Regions from separate parts of the Homo sapiens genome. Here region 1 is linked to region 2. Evidence: promoter capture Hi-C in human tissues and cell types (Jung and others, 2019). All regions are on one chromosome and are shown on one strand. The core of a region is centred on a gene start or on the middle of the fragment in contact, and the rest is flanking DNA. Distances in the headings are between cores, read along the strand shown. Region 1 overlaps LINC-PINT (long intergenic non-protein coding RNA, p53 induced transcript). Region 2 holds the start of AHCYL2 (adenosylhomocysteinase like 2).

Region 1 (3,329 bases), core at 354-2,853, 1.7 Mb after region 2:
GAGAGGAAGAGGAAGAGGGAGAGGGCGATTGAGAGGGAGATTGAGATTGAGAGAGAGAGAGACTGAGATTGAGATTGAGAGAGAGAGTGGTGGGGGTGGGGGTAGATACTGATATTTACCTTAAGGAACTGGCTCATGCAATTACAGGGACTGACAAATCCACAATCTTCAGGGCATGCTGGTGACCAAGGGAAGAGTTGATGTTGCAGTCTTTTTTTTTTTTTTTTTGAGACAGAGTCTCACTCTGTCGCCCAGGCTAGAGTGCAGTTACATGATCTCAGCTCACTGCAACCTCTGCCTCCTGGGTTCAAGTGATTCTCATGCCGCAGCCTCCCAAGTAGCTGGGACTACAGGCGCCTGCCACCATGCCCAACTAATTTTTGTGTTTTTAAATAGAGACAGGTTTTTGCCATGTTGGCCAGGCTGGTCTTGAACTCCTGATCTCAAGCGATCCACCCATCTCAGCCTCCCAAAGTGCTGGGATTACAGGCGTGAGCCACCGTGCCAGGCCGATGTTGCAGTCTTGAGTCTGAAGGGAGACTGGAGACAGAGTTCCTTCTTCTTTAGGGACTTCAATCTTTTTCTCTTAAGGCCTTCAACTGATGATATATGAGGCCTACATACATTACAAAGGATAATCTGCTTCACTCCTTCTACTGATATAAATGTTAAACCTCATCTAAAAAACTACCTGCACAGCGACATCTAGACTGGTGCTTGACCAAGTATCTGGGTACTGTGGCCTCGCCAAGCTGATACATACAATTAGCCATTACACCATCCTTTCAGAAGGGGTGATGCCCACACCGAAGGAAAAAACCTCTAGACTCCACAGCCATTTAATCTTCTATTGGAGACCATAATCGAGGCAAGGAATTCAGATGAGGCTACTCTTTTCTTCACAGGTGAATTCCAAGCGTCTCACAGCTTCCAGGGCATTTCTTGTTCTGGTTCCTGCTCACCTGTCTTATCTCCTTGCTCTTCCCTCCATTCCAGCCACACGTGGTTTTTGGTTTAAAGACACTGTGTTCTTATCTTGCTCTGCCTGAGTACGCGCTACTTCCACGGCCTGGGGTATGCTGTTTTCCCACTTTTTAACTGGGTCCTCATCATTTGAGTCTCATGTTGAGAACCACAACTGCCTCTAGAGAGCTTCCCTGACCTGACAAGGTTAGGCCAGTAAGTTCCCACAGCCAATCTGCACACCTCCTGCCTTACACTCAAGCCACGCCATCAGGGCTCCCTCCCAGCCTGGCAGCTCCGTGAAGGACACACCTCTCTTGTTGGTCACAGCATTCATGCTGCCAAGCTGGTCCACGAAGACACAACAAATAGCTGCTGAATAAATAAATGAGGATGCAGATGGTTCTTAAGCCTTGACCTTCAATCCTCCCAATGTCCTTGAGATTCGGCTCCATGTCTCCAACCACTTGCTGGACACCTGAAGGCGGGAATCTCACCAGCACCTACACTGAATATGCACAGAGTGGACAGAGCTTGTCTTTGCTCTCACGTACGCTGTCTTCCAAGCCTAGTACAGTAGAAAGAACACAGGCTTGGGGGTCAGGGAGGCCTGTACTGAAGTCCCTGTTCTAGATCCTGTTACAACTGTACAATTTTAGACCAATTGCTAATTTTCTCTGACCCTTAGTTTTCTCGTCTCTGATATAAGGATGAAAATACCAACCCACAAGATTAGGAGGAGATTAAATGAGATAATAGCTATGCAATGCCTGGCAGATGGCATAGAAATAATGAATGGCACCTGGGTTCAAAGCTCTGGGGGCATTTTTGCTTCCCATCGGCCAACCCCTATTATCTAGGCAGTTCCTAAATCCCATCTCATAAATTCAATTTCTCCATCTAGTGGCCTTCCCCTCACCCAGGCCCTCCCCACCTCCCTCCTGGACCACAACAGCAGCTCTAAAAGGCTTCCCAGCTCTGGCTATTTCACAGTCCAGAGGCACCCACATGCTGATCCCCGCAAGGCCTCTTCAGGATGGGGACTCTAGCCACTCAAATTCTTCCATTGCTCCCCAGTAACTTAAGTTTAAATCATTTAGTCACGTGCCATTCAAGGCCCTCTGGGTTCTGGCCTCCAAGGACCTTTGCTACCTGATCTTCTCCTTAGTGGTTTACACACATCATTGCCCAGCAACTACAAATCGATTCCTGCCCACTCTGCACCCCGGCATTTCCCATCCCTACCTATGCCTTTGCTCATGTTTCCTTCAACGAGGATACTCCAAGACCTCAAGTCCAACATTACCTTTCTTTCAATGTCTGGCTCAAAGGCTCTTTATCCATGAAGCATTTCTTGATCATCCCAGCCACAGATAAACACACAACCTTTCTTTTCTATGAACTTGTGGTATGTTTATCTCTCTACCTTTTATACATTTCTCTTTCTCTCTGCATTTATTCTTTGTTTTTCTTTTTTCTAAGACATCTTGTTATAGCATCTCTGCATTTATTCTAATTTTATCTGTGCACAGAACCTTAGCTTCAAGCTCCTTGAAGGGTAGCATCGTGTCCCAGCCTACACTGTCACACTCAGGAGAAGCACCCAGTAGATGGTGGCTCTGTATCTACCTACAGAGTGCCACTGAGGAGCACAGGCCTTCAGGTCTGTAGCCCATCAGCTGAGCCTTCGCATCAGCTCCTAGAACAGTGCCTGGCATAGAGCAACACCCAGAAATCATTGTTAAATGAAATTATCCACAAGGGAGTCACCTAGTGTCTACATGATAGAAATTCTTTCCCTGTAGAATATAACATGAAAGGGGGTGTGAAGAAGCCTTCTCTCTCCCCATACTTCCAGATGCAAGAAAGCTTCACGTTAACTGTCTCCCACAAGCTATATAGCTACTCTCGGCAATAAACATGACATATAATACTTTGGTGCATTTGGCGTGTCAAAAATATTCAATTTTAACATGTCAGAAAGAATCATTTTTCAAAAACAGTCTCCTTTGGAGAAGAGAGTTATTCAAACAATATCCAAAACCTTTTTGGATCTCACATTTTGAAGAGGTCCAACTTCCGTTGGTTAAAAAAAAAAGTCTATTATATAATGAAAGCCTTACAACTGACTGAGAATTATAGAATTTCAGAAATAAATCCCAGTCTGTTCATCCTTAAAATAAGAAGCTATTTTTCAGGGCTTTCATGTCCAAAATTATATTATGTAAGCCACTTCATAAATCATGTACACAACAATTCTCATTTTTCCATTAAATCTCTATTTTGAAATTTAATTCACTCATCCATTTTTTCAGAGATGGGATCTTGTTCTGTCGCTCAGGCTAGAGTGCAGTGGTGTGATCATA
Region 2 (3,372 bases), core at 784-3,283:
ATTTTGTTTTTTTAAAGTATTCTTTTTTTTTTTTTTTTTTTTACGAGACGGAGTCTTGCTCCGTCGCCCAGGCTGGAGTGCAGTGGGGCGATCTCTGCTCACTGCAAGCTCTGCCTCCTGGGTTCACGCCATTCTCCTGCCTCAGCCTCCCGAGTAGCTGGGACTACAGGCGCCCGCCACCACGCCCGGCTTATTTTTGTATTTTTAGTAGAGACGGGGTTTCACCGTGTTAGTCAGGATGGTCTCGATCTCCTCACCTCGTGATCTGCCTGCCTCGGCCTCCCAAAGTGCTGGGATTACAGGCTTTTTAAAGTATTCTTTACATAAAATCTTATGGCATGTGCAATTTTGTCTCTTGCTTCTTAGCTTAATGTTTTTATCATAAGCATTTATTCTGAAAGCCAGAATGCCTTGATCTTCTTTCCTGTGCTATTACGATTTTGGAAATCTTCACTTCGTGAAGTTGTCCTGCCTTGGAGTCTCTCATTTCCTGATCGCCAAATTTGTGCCTCACACTATGTATCGGAAGGCGTCTGAGCACTGCCATTTCCACAGAGCTCACAAGTGTACCAGACACAAGAGTTTCTTAGCTTCCTCTTCACATTTTGGCTTTCAGAGTAAAGAATGAAAAAGGGAAAACCTTGTTGTTAAAAAGTATTGGCAAACAATTTTCTTTCTTTCTTCCTTTTTTTCTGGGACGGCATCTCACTCCGTTGTCCAGGCTGGAGTGCCGTGGCATGATCTTGGCTCACTGCAGCCTCTGCCTCCCAGGTTCAAGCGATCCTCCTGCCTCAGCCTCCCAAGTAGCTGGGATTTCAGGTGCCCGCCACCACGCCTGGCTAATTTTTGTATTTTTAGTAGAGATGGGGTTTCACCATGTTGGCCAGGCTGGTCTTGAAGTCCTGATCTCAAGTGATCTGCCGGCCTTGGCCTCCCAAAGTGCTGGGATTACAGACGTCAACCACTATGCCCAGCTGGCAAACGATTTTCAAAGGCTGTAACAATTGCTCTATTTGTTGGACATTAGTTTTAGACAGTTTTTTGTTATTAAAAAGGACGCTGCGGTGCATGTCTTTTTGCTTACATCCTCTAAATGTAAAATTTAAAAATAATACAGAAAAGTACAAAGTAAAAATCACCTTAAATCCCATCACTTAGGAAATTAACTACTCATATTCACTATTCATATCCCTCTATGCTGATATATGTATCTGAATTTCAGATGATTGCCCTATTAGAATTATAGGTGAAAAGATTTGGCCTCGTTTAAGGCAACGTGTAATTCCTCAGCCTTGAATTTTGATCTAGTGATACCTAACTTCTTTGAGGAATGATCTTAGCTTCCAAACCCAGAATGTGACAGAAAGCGCCACAGCAAGCAAGGTCCTACTTTATCCCTTCTAAAAACAAAGCCACTGAAGTTTGGAAGGGTGTTGAGTTCTCAATATCACAAAGAAAAATAAAGCCACTTCCAGCCTGGAGCCGCCGCTTCTCCTTTAAATACTCGCTCACGTGATCGCAGACGGGCACGCGCGGAGGAACTTCACGCTGTCAGGACAACGAGCCATTCCTCTACCACTTCCCCTCCCCTAAGGCTTCTTGGCGTTCCCTCCCCGGAAGTCACAACTCCTCTGGAGACTTTCTCTTCCTCATCCCCTCCGTCGAGTCACCTATCCTCACTCCTTTCTGTTAGCTGCCGGCCCTAGCGCTCCCTCTCCTCGGCTGAATCTCACTTAGTGGAGGAAAGGCTGAAAGGACTACAACTCCCAGGGGACGCTGCGGGCCCCGCCCATGGGGCGCGCAGTGTAGGTCGGGGCCTGAGGTCCCACGGTCTTCTCGCCGCGTGCGGCCGGGAGCAAACGCACTACAGGTTCCGTGGCGCCTCGCGCGAGGCCAGACCGGGACGGGGCGGGGCGGGGCTGGAGGGGCCGGGACTGGCGGGCGGAGAAAGGGGGTGGGAGAGGAGGCGATGGAGGGGAGGAGTGGGGACATGGGGGAGGGAAGAGGAAGGGAGGTGGGAGGCGGGGCCGACCAAGAGCAGGAGCTGGAGTCTGAGCCGGTGGTTGCAGCGGAGGCGGTGATGTCGGTGCAGGTTGTGTCAGCCGCGGCTGCCGCCAAGGTGCCTGAGGTGGAGCTGAAGGACCTGAGCCCCTCCGAGGCGGAGTCGCAACTAGGACTGAGCACGGCCGCCGTGGGCGCCATGGCCCCCCCGGCGGGCGGTGGAGACCCTGAGGCTCCAGCTCCCGCCGCGGAGCGGCCCCCGGTCCCCGGCCCGGGCTCGGGGCCCGCCGCCGCTCTCAGCCCCGCCGCCGGGAAGGTGCCTCAGGCGTCGGCCATGAAGCGGAGCGACCCACATCACCAGCACCAGCGGCACCGCGACGGCGGCGAGGCCCTGGTCAGCCCCGACGGCACCGTCACCGAGGCGCCGCGCACAGTCAAGAAGGTACTGGGGCCGGGCTGCCTCTCTAGGAGAGGAAGGGAGGGGAGGGGAACTGCAGATCCTCTCGGCACGGCGGCACCACCCTCCACGCCCTCCTTTCTGATCGCAGGACCGGAGATACCCCTTGTCCCCTTAAACCCACTCTCTCAGAGATGCCCCCCAGCCGGCCCCTCGTGCTGGGAGCGGAGACTCCAGGAGGCACGGCCGTACTTCGCTCTGAATAACATGGAGGTAGCGCTCTCCCCTACTACTTGGAATAGGCAGCGGGAGGAGAGACACCTAATAGTACGTCCCGCGGCCCCAACACGCTCCCGGGTGTGATTTTCCAGCCTATCGGGGAAGAGACCTCGATAGTATAGAAAAACCTTACCGCTCACGGGAGTTCACACAGCAATAAGGATGAAAAGATCTTTAATACTTGGAGAACGAGTAAGGTGTAGTCACCTTGCATAGAAATCGTCAGAGTTGTCTGGTTTCCATACAGTTGATGACTTTCTGCCTTTCTGTGGCCAACCGTGGCCATACAGCAACACGATGCTGTGCCCTTCATTTCCAGCGACTGCGATATTCTCTCTTCCCTGAATATGTAAAAGGGTAATGGAGAGATTCTCCTCACTCTTTCGTGTTAAGAGCTTTGTCCTCCCTGCTGGGTATAGTTGGTCACCAGGATTATTAGGCTGTGTATGAAGAGAATGAATGTCTTATTGATTGCTTTATTATAATCTGAAAGTGATAGGAAGAAATGCTGCTACTTTTGGGAAAGACGATCTTTGTGGGGTTTTCGGTCTTAGGCGTCAGCTTCTTTCAGACAGTTTTGAGGAGGTCTCAGAATACCAAGAAGTAACTGCCTAGGTGGATGATAGCCCTGTATTACCCGTACATTGTCTATCCATAGTTGTCTGTCTCTCTCAAAGCTTGTCTTTCTTTCTCTC

What was found. Contacts are between HindIII fragments. The study calls those that stand out against the background at their distance.
Region 1: a contact is called between a fragment that was not itself captured here and the fragment with the promoter of AHCYL2 in region 2, in 1 of the 25 tissues and cell types used here (hippocampus).

Annotation. Positions count from the first base shown.
Region 1 is chr7:130,934,625-130,937,953 of GRCh38, forward strand. The region is part of intron 6 of LINC-PINT (long intergenic non-protein coding RNA, p53 induced transcript); the gene reads right to left. Among named protein-coding and RNA genes, the nearest start is that of LINC00513, 23 kb to the left of the region's middle. The HindIII fragment of the contact is 9,181 bases long and covers 1-3,329 here.
Region 2 is chr7:129,222,997-129,226,368 of GRCh38, forward strand. AHCYL2 (adenosylhomocysteinase like 2) reads left to right here and starts at 2,034. Exons shown (of 17, transcript NM_015328.4): 1 at 2,034-2,443. The coding sequence starts at 2,081. RefSeq lists an enhancer at 1,538-1,647 and silencers at 1,928-1,997, 2,118-2,367. The HindIII fragment of the contact is 19,696 bases long and covers 1-3,372 here.